Regions from separate parts of the Homo sapiens genome. Here all the other regions are linked to region 1. Evidence: promoter capture Hi-C in 16 types of primary human blood cells and fetal thymus (Javierre and others, 2016). All regions are on one chromosome and are shown on one strand. Each heading gives the region's core, a stretch centred on a gene start or on the middle of the fragment in contact. The rest is flanking DNA. Distances are from core to core; before and after follow the strand shown.

Evidence for each region. Contacts are between HindIII fragments. The CHiCAGO score rates a contact against its expected background, and 5 or more counts as called.
Region 2: a fragment that was not itself captured here is called in contact with the fragment with the promoter of ACO1 in region 1 in 4 of 17 cell types (erythroblasts, monocytes, M2 macrophages and 1 more); the score reaches 12.1 in erythroblasts.
Region 3: a fragment that was not itself captured here is called in contact with the fragment with the promoter of ACO1 in region 1 in 3 of 17 cell types (M2 macrophages, erythroblasts and M0 macrophages); the score reaches 6.0 in M2 macrophages.
Region 4: a contact is called between a fragment that was not itself captured here and the fragment with the promoter of ACO1 in region 1, in 15 of 17 cell types (erythroblasts, M0 macrophages, M2 macrophages and 12 more). The highest score is 15.0, in erythroblasts.
Region 5: a fragment that was not itself captured here is called in contact with the fragment with the promoter of ACO1 in region 1 in 2 of 17 cell types (erythroblasts and endothelial precursors); the score reaches 6.7 in erythroblasts.

Annotation. Positions count from the first base shown.
Region 1 is chr9:32,383,368-32,386,067 of GRCh38, forward strand. ACO1 (aconitase 1) reads left to right here and starts at 1,276. Exons shown (of 21, transcript NM_002197.3): 1 at 1,276-1,368. RefSeq lists a silencer at 1,077-1,456. The HindIII fragment of the contact is 14,350 bases long and covers 1-2,700 here.
Region 2 is chr9:33,003,231-33,005,930 of GRCh38, forward strand. It overlaps a transcript of APTX not described here. Among named protein-coding and RNA genes, the nearest start is that of APTX, 3.0 kb to the left of the region's middle. The HindIII fragment of the contact is 833 bases long and covers 985-1,817 here.
Region 3 is chr9:32,924,105-32,926,804 of GRCh38, forward strand. It overlaps the pseudogene BOLA3P4. Among named protein-coding and RNA genes, the nearest start is that of APTX, 76 kb to the right of the region's middle. The HindIII fragment of the contact is 3,149 bases long and covers 1-2,700 here.
Region 4 is chr9:32,983,990-32,986,689 of GRCh38, forward strand. It overlaps APTX (aprataxin), which reads right to left. Exons shown (of 8, transcript NM_001195248.2): 5 at 1,982-2,041; 6 at 642-868. Among named protein-coding and RNA genes, the nearest start is that of APTX, 16 kb to the right of the region's middle. The HindIII fragment of the contact is 1,664 bases long and covers 500-2,163 here.
Region 5 is chr9:32,945,552-32,948,251 of GRCh38, forward strand. It overlaps the pseudogene ASS1P12. Among named protein-coding and RNA genes, the nearest start is that of APTX, 55 kb to the right of the region's middle. The HindIII fragment of the contact is 1,338 bases long and covers 602-1,939 here.

The DNA of each region.
Region 1 (2,700 bases), core at 26-2,525:
CTCACCTTGCCCCTACTCTCCCTACCTCCCAAGGGGACTGGAGCATGATTTTTCAGGGATTGTGGTGCACCTCTGCCATATGGTGGACATTCAAAGAAAATTTAATTACTAATGTGAATGGAAAGGATTTAGGAAGTGGGTGGGAAAACAGTCTCCTCTCATATTGGAAATACAGTTACTTCCCCTTTCAAAATAAATATAAGTATTTATATTTCAAAGTTAAATATAACTAGACGATAGTTGTACCCTATAGTGCAGTATGACAGGGAAGGTGTAGGCTTTGGTGTCAAACCAACCTAAGGACTGAGTCTCAGCTGTTGCGCATTGCACACCTGCAAAGACGGGTAATATTCTTTACTTGTAAGGTGGTTGGAAGAGCTGAACTGAATAACGTGGAAAGAGTCGATCACAGGGCTTTGTGCAGAATAGGAGGGCAGTATAAAGTAGCAGGGGGGCTATTAGTACTGGCTATTGTTTACTCATCCTATAAGCTGCTTATTCAGAAAACTACAGTAACTTTCCAAATAATTTGGGCAGGAAAACCTCACCACCTTTCATCTAGAAAGATCTAATCACTTCTTTGAACGCCATTCACCCAAGAGGGCACAACTCCTACCAACATGAAAAGCAGATCTTGTGAAAGCCCACTTGCTGCCATCTCCCAGCCATTTCTCCGACTTCAGACCGGTGAACATCGTGCATTAGAAAGTGTTGTTACATGTCCAAGGAAATCTACATATAGAACTTTTGCCACGGAAATGCTGAAGTCCTATTCTGACAGCGTGACTCCGATGTCCACTTGGCAGGCTTTGCGCAAAGAATTAAGGCGAGGGTGGAGAGGGTGGGTAGGGTGGGGACGGACAAAGTGAGAAGGGAGGCGGGCCAAGTGACCACACGTACATGAAGCCTCTCCAGTTATGGCCAAATCATTTTTTAAAAATAATTCCATTTCTTCCCCACCCTTTGGTCACTTCCTAACGCCGGCTGGGGAGTCACATGCTAAGCTCCAAAGTGAGCAACAGACACCCTCGTCCCAGGTCCCATGCTGGCAGAAGCGGACCCGGGCCGAGGGATCAGCCCTCCCACTTCCAGCGGAGGAGCCCTTCGCAACCCTAGCCTCCAGCCCGGGGCGAAGTCCTCCAGGCCCGCGGGGGCGCCCGCAGGCTCCGCCCCTTCTTCGGCTAGCTGCCCGTCCGTCCCGCCCCTGCTCCGCCCTTCCCGCCCCTGCTCCGCCCATCGCGCGGCGGCCCCGGGGGCGAGAGGGGGCGGAGCGTGGAGGCGGCAGCTGGAACCGCGCAGCGCACGGGAACGCGTCCCGCTGCTTGGGTCAGGTTCGCCGGTCGCGGGAGCCCCGCCGTGCAGTCGGAGGTGAGTACCGACGCGGCCCGACCCACGTCCCCAGGCGGGAGCGCCGTCCACCCTGTATCCCTCGAGAGTCGGTGCGGGCCTTTACCGAGGTGCCCGAGGCAGTGGCGGCACGGGGGACACGGAGGCGAGCTTGGGGAGGCTGAGAGGAGAATCGGGGACGTGTTTCTGGCGACTGACGTCTCCACCCTGTCCCCAGTCTATGTCATGCCGGGGAGAGAAACCAGGGATTGGAAGTGGCTTTCCTAGACCCTTCTTAGCCTTGGCTGTGCGTGCTGTCCTGAAAGTCCTTGCCTAGGGTGTGCGGCCAGTCCTGGGAGTCCTAACCCCGAGGGTGTGAGGCCCGCACTGGGAGTCCTCGCCCAGGCCCGGCTGGCTGGATAGGGAAACCCTTGCTAAAGTTGTGCGGGCAGATCCGGGAATCCACTCCAAGGGGTAAAGGGAAAATGGGATGAGGGGGAAGAGACCCTTCGTGGGAGGCTTGAACACAGAGCCCACCATGATAGATTCAGAGATCTAGAAAGGAGCTTGGGCTGCAGTTATGACCAAGTCATTTTTTTCTAGATTCAGCTAGCACATCATAATGGCATCTTCCTTCTTGCAACACATGTAACTCTCTTCCCTGGGGGACAACCTCTAGGACAGAAGTCCCCAAACTTTTCTGGTACTCAGTACTCCTTTACACTCTTAAAAATTAGTATCTTAAGGAGCTTTTATGTGTGTTATATCTATCCATATTTATAATATGTAAGTAAGACTGAGAAATTTGTACTATAATAATTCATTTAAAAAGAATAGTGAACTAATTATATCTTAACATTGCCTATTTTTATGAAAAAGAACTATATTTCCCAAAACAGAAAATGATTGAGAAGAGTGGCATTGTTTTACATTTTTGCAAATCTCTTTGATGTCAAGCGTAATTGAAGACAGCTGGATTCTGATAGCTGCTTCTGCAGTCTGTTGCAATATCACATATCATGTAGCCTCTTGAGACCTCCACTGTATACTCCTGAAAATGTGTGAATGAAAAAAAGCAAGTAACATTTTATTACTAGGAAAATGGTTTTGACTTTGGAGATCCCTAGGAGTTCTCTGCACCACACTTTGAGGATGCTGGTGTAGGAAATGCTTCAGAGGCTTCATTCATTGGGCCTGCTTCTTGTTTGTGATCCTTCCTCTGATTGGGAACACACACCACCTCATGCCATGGACAGTATTAACCTCTGGTATCTGGAACCAAGTTTGATCTCACTTTGGAAACCATGTACTAGGTCCCCACGTGAGGCTGTGATGAACCTTGCCAGCCTCCTGAAAAGTCAGCAAGGCTTCGCA
Region 2 (2,700 bases), core at 151-2,650, 620 kb after region 1:
TCCTGCTTGTTAGGCCTAGTCCATTGTCTATAGTGTATTAGTGGCCAGAAAAGCAAGATCACATGGCACAATGTATAGCTAAAGGTATGGCAGGCAGTGAAGACTTTCAGGCACTTCATATTGCCATGCTAATCACCAGAACTTTTTCATCTTGAAAAACTGAAACTCGGCCAGGCACGGTGGCTCACACCTGTAATCCCAGCACTTTGGGAGGCCAACGCAGGTGGATTACCTGAGGTCAGGAGTTCAAGACCAGCCTGGCGTGGCGGAACTCGCCTGTAGTCCCAGCTACTTGGGAGGCTGAAGCAGAAGAATTGCTTGAACCCGGGAGGTAGAGGTTGCAGTGAGCCAAGATCACTCCACTGCACTCCAGCCTGGGCGATAGAGCAAGACTCTGCCTCAAAAAAAAAACTCCGTATCGATTAAATAGCTCCCTATTTTCCCTCCCCCACCTGGCAACCACCATTCTACTTACAGTTTTCATGAGTCTGACCACTCTAGGTACCTCATGTAAGTAAAATCAGACAGTATTTGCCCATTTGCGACTGGCTTATTTCACTTAATATAATGTCCTCAAGTTTCATCCACATTGTATCATGTGTAAAAAGTTCCTTTTTAAAGCTGAATAACACTCCATTGCATGTACACACCATACTTTATCCATTCATCCACCCGTGGATATTCCACCATTTGGCTATTGTGAATAATGCTGCTATGAACATGAGTGTATAAATATCTCTTTGAGATCCTGTTTTCACAATTTGCAATTGCAAGAACATGGAACCAACCTAAATGCCCATGAACTGATGAATGCATAAAGAAAATGTCGTACATATACACCACAGAATACTACTCAGCCATAAAGAAGAATGAAATAATGTCTTTTGAAGCAACTTGAATGGAACTGGAGGCCATTTTTCTAAGTGAAGTAACTCAGGAATGGAAAACCAAATACCACATGTTCTCACTTATAATTGGCAGCTAAGCTTTGGGTATGTAAAGGCATACAGAGTGGTATAATGTTCATTGGAGATTCAGAAGTGGAGAGAGTGGGAGGAAGATGAGAGATTTTAAAAAACTACATATTGGGTGTAACTATTACTCGGGTGATAGGTACACTAAAATTTCAGACTTCACCATTATACACTTCATCCATGAAACCAAAAACCATTTGTACCCCTAAAGCCACTGAAATTTGTTTTTAATGTGAAACAATTTTTAAAAATTCTTCTTTCAATTATTTTGAATATATACACAGAAGTGAAACTGCTGGATTATATGGTAATTCCATTTTTAATATTTTGAGGAACTGTCACACTGTTTTCCATAGCAGCTGGATGATTTTACATTTCTACCAATAGTGTACAAGAGTTCCAATTTCTCCACATTCTTGCCAACCCTTTTTTTTTTTTTTTTTTTTGAGATGGAGTCTCGCTCTGTCACCCAGGCTGGAGTGCAGTGGTGCAATCTCGGCTCCCTGCAACCTCCACCTCGCGGCTTAAGGCGATTCTCCTGCCTCAGCCTCCTGAGTAGCTGGGACTACAGGTGCCTGCCACCACACCCGGGTAATTTTTGTATTTTTTTTTTTTTTAGAAGAGATGGGGTTTCACCATATTGGCCAGGCTGATCTCAAACTCCTGACCTTGTGATCCACCCACCTCGGCCTCCCAAAGTGCTGGGATTACAGGTGTGAGCCACTGCGCCCGGCCGCTTGTTACTTTTTTTTGATAGCAGCCATCCTAATGGGTGTGAAATGGTATCTCATTGTGGTTTTGCTTTGTATTTCCCTAATGATTAGTGATGTTGATCTTTTCATAAGCTTCCTGTCTATTTGTATGTATTTGGAGAAATGTCTATTCAAGTACTTCATTTTTTAATGGGGTTATTTTTGTTTTGTTTTGTTGTAGGAGTTCTTTATATATTCTGGATATTGACCTCTGATCAAATATAAGATTCCCATTTCATAGGGTGCTTTTCACTCTGCTTGCTGGCTGTATCCCTGGATGCACAAAACTTAATTGTGAAGTACTTTAATTTACCTATTTTTACTTTTGCTGCCTGTCTTTTGGTGTTATATCCAAGAAAACATTGCCAAATCTGTCATGAAACTTTTCCCTTATGTTTTCTAAGAGTTTTATAGTTTTAGGTCTTATGTTTAGGTCTTTGATCCATTTTTGAGGTGTGGTTTTATTTTTTTGTTTTTTGTTTTTGTTTTTGTTTTTGTGAGACAGAGTCTTGCTCTGTTGCCCAGGCTGGAGTGCAGTGATGCAATCACAGCTTACTGCAGCCTTGACCACCCAGACTCAAACAATCCTCCCACCTCAGCCTCCCAAGTAGCTGGGACTACAAGCATGTCCCACCAAGCCTGGCTAATTTTTTTTTTAATAGAGACAGAGGTCTTGCTATGTTGCCCAGGCTGATCTTGAACTCCTGGGCTCAAGCAATCCTCCTGCCTCAGCCTCCCAAAGTGCTGACATTACAGGTGTGAGACACTGTGCCTGGCCTTGAGTTCATTTTCTGTACTATGTAAGGTAAGGCTCCAACTTCAATTTTTTGCATGTGGATACCCAGATTTTAACAATATCATTTGTTGAAAAGACTGCCCTTTCCTCACTGAATGGTATTGACATACTTACTGAATATCATTTAATCATTTATGCAAGGATTTACTTCTGGGATTTCTATTGTATTCCATCAGTC
Region 3 (2,700 bases), core at 7-2,506, 540 kb after region 1:
AATTAGCTTGAAAGAGACCCAAGCAGGCACTGAAGGTCCAAGAGAGAAATGAGAGCAAAAGAAGACAGCAAAAGGGGCCTTTGACCTTGATCTTTATAGGTTCGCCTTTATAGGGGACTATATAGGCTCGCCTCTCTCCCAGGATTCTTCCCTTAGGGTGGGCTTTCCGCATGCCCATGCTTTCCTTACTCTTTGGAATTGAGCACACACAGTGAGTTTAGGGAGTTGTACACATGCCCATCTGAGGCTTTCTTCCTTTTCCAGTGGAGGGTGCCCCCAGAAGATCATATTTCACCATTTTTGTCTCTTAACACGCATGCCCAGGAAGTTGCTTCTCCCTGGGGCCTGCATTCAATTAGCATTTTGATGTTAACAGGTGTGAACCATCAGGAAATGGCCTCTCCCTGGCGCTGCCAAATTATAAGTTTTAGAGAAGCGATGCAATAATTGCCAAACCATCACCCGACATTTCTAGTGGGTGGAGGGAGAGCCCTCTCCTGCCCCACTCATGCCTAACTACCTGTAGCACTGTTACTAATACATCATCTTCATAACAAAGGAGAATAAAGAGTGAAACCTGTTCACAACATTTTCTGTGCTTGCCCTGGACTTTGAACTGCTCATCCAAGGTTCTCTGAATGTTTGGAAGTAGTTTAGCCTAGTGGTGAAATTCCTAAATTGTCGCCTTTCTCTACTTCATTTCTATCAGTGGGTCATTCCTTCACTACTAGAACATTTGACCTGCACAGCACAGGTAAACATAAGACTTAGAATCCCTAGGCAAGGCCATACCTGGTGGGGAGGATTCCGGTCCTGACAGCATAGGCATGAGAGTTGTCTGAAGCAGACACCATATAGGGCATGTTGAAGGGCTCGCACTGACTGCACTCACAGGGGGCCTCTGGATCCAGGCCATCTCTAAGCCTGGAAAGAAACAGAGCCGGTGAAGATGCTTTATTTCACTCTGCACACCAGACCACCATGATCAGGTTTTGAGAGGAGGATTTTTAATGGCATGCTGTATGGAAAACCACTGGTTATAGAGTGTTATCCAAATATCAGTACTATCCTCATTCCGTAAATGTAGGGGTCCCATTAATTTACTCTCAAAGGGATATATTTCCAGGTGTGGTGAGGAGGCCAGCCAAGGCTACATTTCCTAATTCCTGATACCTCTCCTCCCAGTCTCGCTCTAGTTTCCACCATTTGTTAAAAGTTTACTGGCTGACAGGATTTTTCTAATTTCTAATTTTCAGAAAAGCAAAATTTCCTTACAACATGTGATCTCTAGAGAGCAAATGCTCCAACTGTGCTCCTTACAGCTTATCTTTGGAATTACCAACATAAGAACATGATTTTCCCTAGAGATTTTAATGCTGACTCCAGAGACTCCATCTAGCTCATCTTTGAAATCACAGTGTGAAGCATAGGGCCACAGTCAATGTTCATTCGGCCAAGACTACATGCTTGGCACTGAGCTAGTCTGTGATTTCAAAATTAACACACAAATGACCAAACATATAACTCAAAATTAATATAACCCACTCTTTGGGCCTCCAGGTATGACTACAGATCCGATGCAAATCATTTGTGAGTATTTCTGATGCATTAAAAATCATTTTTTAAAGATGCTCAATAATACAACATTAGGGGAAAGCTGGGGAAATTTGAATAAGGTCTGCAATTTAGTTACAAGCATTGTACGAATGTTAATTTCCTGGTTTCATGTCCTGGTTAATTTCCTGTCAATGTTAATTTCCTGATTATGTAAGATGTTAACAGGGGTAGCAGGGTGAAGGGTATAAAGGAACTCCATTTAATTTTTGCAACTTTTCTTTAAGTCTAAAATTATTTCAAAATAAAAGGTCCAAAAATTCTTTTAAAAAGGATGCTCAGCTTTCAGGTGGCCCAGTGGCCTAGGGCGGCGGGCTACATCAGTCAGACACAGAGATGTGGAACCCTGCCCTTGTAGCTCCTCTCCACGCAGGATCTGCAGGCTTCCTCTTCTGCACTGTGTTCATTGAATGTTTGCCTCCCAGACTGACGGGGAGCTCAAAGGGACCCAAATTCTCAAAGAGAAGTTTTCTGGAGCTACAGCTATCCAAGTCACTGACATTTCAGGAGGCTGTAGGTGATGTATAAAATCCAAATCAAACCAGAAGAATTTAAAGAAACAAGAACTGTCCCTCAGCACCAGATGATTAATCAGGCACTAAAAAAGGAAAATCAAAGGGATGCACAGATGGTGGGTATTTACCTCTGTCCCCAGACACTGACCTCCATGCCCCCGGGGCTGTGTAGATGCAGCTGCCTAAAACTTCGGATGAACTTGACTGGAACCACTCTTTCCTACGCATTTGCAAAAAAAAAAAAAAAAAAAAAGTATCTGTTTTGTTCGTAGACATTTCCATACTACAATTAAAGAAGAATGTGTTATCTATTTAGAGGTTAATTAAAGGCAACAGACAACTGGTGGAGGAGAGAGGTGGGAAAAGATGTTCAACTCAAAAAACAGATGGAGATCTGAGCATAGGTGTCTGAAATGACTAAGGAAATGTAAAACTGGGACAAATCTCATTGGTGCTAGAAATTAAGGAAAGGTACCATCCATGAGCCAAAAAATTATTCTAGAGATAATGATATTGGTAGCCAAAATGAAGAAAGGGGACAAAAGCCAATGTCCAACTGACGTCTCATAGA
Region 4 (2,700 bases), core at 82-2,581, 600 kb after region 1:
TAAAATGTAAATTTTGTTATGTATATTATATCACAGTTTTTTAAAAACAAAATAAAAACTCTAAAATCTAGACTTATCATCTTATTGCTTAAATCAAAGAAATCACGGAGATCCACCTTGCTTGTATTCTTTGAAAGAAATCAGTCATTCCTTTCTGAATCCTTCTGGGCATAAGCCACAGGAAAACAAATTCTATACTTTTCTCTCATTTTATTTTCAAATCCTGGATCTACTACGCTGTCATTACAGAAGTCTATGATGTTTGTTTCCTTCAGAGTAATGGTCCTTAATCATTCTGGGGTTATAGACGCTTTTGAAGAATCTGATAAAAGCCACTGACCACAATTCTTTATCTGAGGATAATGAAGCTGCTTCATCTAGTTCATATATTAGGCTCTCGAAGATTTATATTTTGAGAGGAACAAAGAACCAAATATGACTGAATTATAGGCAGAAGTGGGAACTCAAAGCTTGCATGCAAGTCAGGCAGAGAGGTGGAAGCTTCAGCCCACCTGCTTTGGAAAAACTCCATCCCACTTCCCTGGGTCTCAGTGCAATATGTGCCCTCAGCAAGCCCAGGCTGAATCTATCTGCCCACCTGGACAGAACCAGGAGCCAGCAGCACTACCCACCTGGCTTACCTCATACTCGGAATGGCGTGGTAGCCCAATCGGAAGCGGAGTTTGCTGGACCCAGCAAAATCTACAATCACCTTTTCCCCCACAGTGTGCATATGCTTAAGGAGTTCAAGGTGTTCCCTGGCCACAGCCTTCAGACTGGAAATGGAGGTCCACGGTAAGACCAGCCAATGGTAACGGGCCTTTGGGTATTTATCCTTTATCACCACCACCTGCTCATCTTTGTAAACCTAGCAGAGGGATACAAGAGAAGGAAACAGACATCTACTAAGAATCTTCTGTGTGCCTGGTTGTTATATTCACTAAGTCACTTAATTCCCACAGTCTTGTGCAAATGGTTTTAATAGCCCAGTTTTGAGAGAGGAGAGCACTGAAATTCAGACAGGTTGAGTGTCTTGCACAAGTCATAGTTCCTAAGAGGGAAATCTAGGATTCCAACTCAGATGTGGTTGACTCCAGAGTCTGTTTTCAACCACCACACTACACAGAATACACAGAAGATGCACAGTACAAAATAGTTCCCAAGAATGTGATGTAAAATCTCTGTAGACATAAATTCAAAAGCATCCTTCTCCACTCCAACATGGCAGACTGTGTGACACGTACACGTGGGTTCCAGTGAGCCCTATTAGACCTGCCCCTTGTCAACAAGGAATATAATTGAAGTGGGACTCAAAGGCTCCTCAAGGATGATGCCTGTTTTTTTTTTTTTTTTTTTTTTTTTGAGATGGAGTTTCGCTCTTGTTGCCCAGGCTGGAGTACAATGGTGCAATCTCAGCTCACCGCAACCTCCACCTCCCGGATTCAAGTGATTCTCCTGCCTCAGCCTCTCGAGTAGCTGAGATTACAGGCATGCACCACCATGCCCAGCTAATTTTTTGTATTTTTAGTAGAGACAGGGTTTCTCCATGTTGGTCAGGCTGATCTCGAACTCCTGACCTCAGGTGATCCTCCCGTCTCGGCCTCCCAAAGTGCTGGGATTACAGGGATGTCTGACTGTTAATGCCAGGGCAGCACAGTACTACTGTCACAGTGTATTATCTCTGATGCTCCCCTGAAAGGAACCATACTAAGGTTAATGCAACTTCCCTTAAAGTACCCAGAAGTTTAAAAGGCACAAGGCAGAGGGGATATTCATTTGAAGAACTCAGCTTTCTCTCCAAACAATGACAGCTGCTACTTTATTGCCAATGTGAAAAGCCTCTTGTTCTCACAGAACAGCCCAATAAAATGAATCTCATTCAGAAAGACTGATATCCTTTGATTTCATTTGTAATTAAGACCTCTGTGGAGTGGTCATTTACAACATGAAATGTACTGAAATTCCAAAATTGTATTCTGACCTGCATTTTGGGGTCCTGCATAGAAATCTTCAAGCCTTGACTCCAGTGGCCCAGGGATTCCTAAAAAAAAAACAAAAAAAAAAACAAAAAAAAAAAAAAACAAGCAATGTAAATTACAAATGCCAATAATTAAATTTGGCAACAGTTAATACTGTGTGATAGCACAACTAAACTTGGAAATAAGCTTAGTTTTTGAGAATTAAACAAGATTCACTTGACTCTGCTTCACTCCATTGCCTTCCTATATTCTCTTTTTTTTTGAGACAAAGTCTCACTCTGTCTCACCCAAGCTGGAGTGCAGCGGCGTGATCACTGCAACCTCCGAAGTGATTCTCCTGCCTCAGCCTCCCAAGTAGCTGGGATTACAGGTGCCCACCACCACGCCCAGCTAACTTTTGTATTTTTTAGTAGAGACGGAGTTTCACCAGGTTGGCCATGCTGGTCTTGAACTCCTCACCTCAGGTGATCCACTGGCCTCCACCTCCCCAAGTGCTGGGATTACAGGCGTGAGCCACCACACCCGACCCTATATTCTTTCTTTTTTTTTTTGAGATGGGGTTTCGCTCTTGTTGCCCAGGCTGGAGTACAATGGCGTGATCTCGGCTCACTGCAACCTCTGCCTCCCGGGTTCAAGCGATGCTCCTGCCCAGCCTCTGGAGTTGCTGGGATTATAGGCATGCACCACCACGCCCAGCTAATTTTGTATTTTTAGTAGAGAT
Region 5 (2,700 bases), core at 21-2,520, 560 kb after region 1:
TGTCTCTGAAAATAAATAAATAAATAAATTTTTAAAAATCTTTAAATAGATTTTATGTTTCCAAGTCATTAAAGAACATGAGATGTCTTTCCATTTGTTCAGATAACATTTATAATTTTAATTGAGCTTTTATAACTTTAAATAGGTCTTATATCTTATTAATTTTACTGTCAAGGTGAAACTATTTTGATTTCTGAAATTTGCTTTAAAGTAGTACTACAGTAGGTAAGGTGGAGAGGCAGGATGAAACAAGAAGGGCAGAATATTGACGATTGTTGAAGCTGGTTATGGGTACTATTCTCTGGGTTTTTGTGGATGGTTTGGTATTTTGAAATTATACTCCCTGCTCTGTCGCCTGCCACCGCTCCCTGAGCCCGAGTGGTTCACCGTACCATGAAGACAGATGGCAGATGCCAGGAACTCGAGCCTCCAATCCCAGATGCTATGTCCAGCAAAGGCTCAGTGGTTCTGGCCTACAGTGGCAGCCCGGACACCTCTTGCATCCTCGTGTGGCTGAAGGAACAAGGCTATGACATCATTGCCTACCTGGCCAACACTGGCCAGAAGGAAGACTTCGAGGAAGCCTGGAAGAAGGCACTGAAGCTTGGGACCAAAAAGGTGTTCATTGAGGATGCCAGCAGGGAGTTTGTGGAGGAGTTCATCTGGCCGGCCATCCAGTCCAGCGCACTGTATGAGAACCGCTACCTCCTGGGCACCTCTCTGGCCAGGCCCGGCATCGCCGGCAAACAAGTGGAAATCGCCAAGCAGGAGGAGGCCAAGTATGTGTTCCACGGCACCACGGGAAAAGGAAATGATCAGGTCCGGTTTGAGCTCACCTGCTATTTGCTGGCCCCCCAGATAAAGGTCACCGCTCCCTGGAGGATGCCCGAGTTCTACAACCGGTTCAAGGGCTGCAATGACCTGATGAAATAGGCAAAGCAACATCGGGTTCCCATTCCAGTCACTCCCCAGAGCCCGTGAAGCATAGACGAGAACCTCATGCACATCAGCTATGAGGCTGGAATCCTGGAACCCCAAGAACCAAGTGCCTCCAGGTCTCTACATGAAGACCCAGGACCCAGCCAAAGCCCTCAACACCCCTGACATTCTCGAGATCAAGTTCAAAAAAGGGGTCCCCGTGAAGGTGACCAACGTCAAGGATGGCACCACCCACCAGACCTCCTTGGAGCTTTTCGTGTACCTGAATGAAGTTGCAGGCAAGCACGGCGTGGGCCGTATTGACATCGTGGAGAACCGCTTCATTGGAATGAAGTCCTGAGGTATCTGCGAGGCCCCAGCAGGGACCATCCTTCACCACACTCATTTAGACATCAAGGCCTTCACCATGTACCGAGAAGTGCGCAAAATCAAACAAGGCCTGAGCTTGAAATTTGCTGAGCTGGTGTATACCGGTTTCTGGCATAGCCCTGAGTGTGAATTTGTCCGCCACTGTAATGCCAAGTCCCAGGAATGAGTGGAAGGGAAAGTGCAGGTGTCTGTCCTCAAGGGCCAGGTGTATATCCTCGGTCGGGAGTCCCCACTGTCTCTCTACAACGAGGAGCTGGTGAGCATGAACGTGCAGGGGGATTATGAGCCGATTGATGCCACGGGTTCATCAACGTCGATTCCCTCAGGCTGAAGGAATGTCATCTCCAGAGCAAGGTCACTGCCAAACAGACCCCTGTACAATGAGGAGCTGGGGCTTCCCCAATTTGCAGATTTTTTCCCCCAAGTACAGGTGCTAATTGTGATAATTTGTCATTGTGACTTGTTTTCTCCAGCTGGCAGCATAGTGGGTCTGCCAGGCCCCAGCTTTGTTCCCTGGTCGCCCTGAACCCTGCAAACGTCGTCATCGAAGGGAAGGGTGGGGGCAGCTGCGGTGGGGAGCTATAAAATGACAATTAAAAGATTTTTTTAAATTACACTCCTAAGTATTTTAAGCTTGTATAAAACTGTAGAAAATAAAATAGTTTTCTAATTTCCTTTCAAAGTACTTACTGCTAATACGGAGAGAAGTTGGTGCTTTTTGTATATTTATCTTGCATCTGCCCACTTTTCCAAAATGACCTACAATTCAAATAGTTTATTACTAAAGTCCCTCGAGTTTTCTAGGCAAACAATGAAGTCACATAGACAAACATAAATAGTTTTATTTCGTCTTCTTCAAAGTTTATGGCAATTATTTTCTTACCTTACTTTGACAATGTAACATAATAATAGCACATGGACATCCTTTTCTAATTTCTGATTTCAATGAAATGATTTCAGAGTTTTGCTATTTAGAACAATGTTTGCTATTGGGTTTAGAGATACAGTCCTTATCCTAGATAAGTAGTTTCCTTGTATTGTTACTTAGACTTGTTTTTAATAGAAAAGTCATCACACCCTATTGGCTTAGAATTTTTATTAGGAATGGCTATTAAATTTTATAAAATGTTCCTCCAGTGTATATTGACAGGATCATATGGTTTTTCCTTTATAGTATTATCATAATTCATTACTAACGGTAATAGATGTCTTGATAGTGAACCAGCCTGTACACCTGAAATATATAGAATAGGGCATAATTAAAATACTCTATAGCAGTATATTATTATTATATAACTTGATTTTTATTAATACTTTATTTAGAATTTTTGCATCTGTATTAATAAGTGTAAGGTTACATAAATAACCTAAGTGTTTTTTCTACTCTCGACT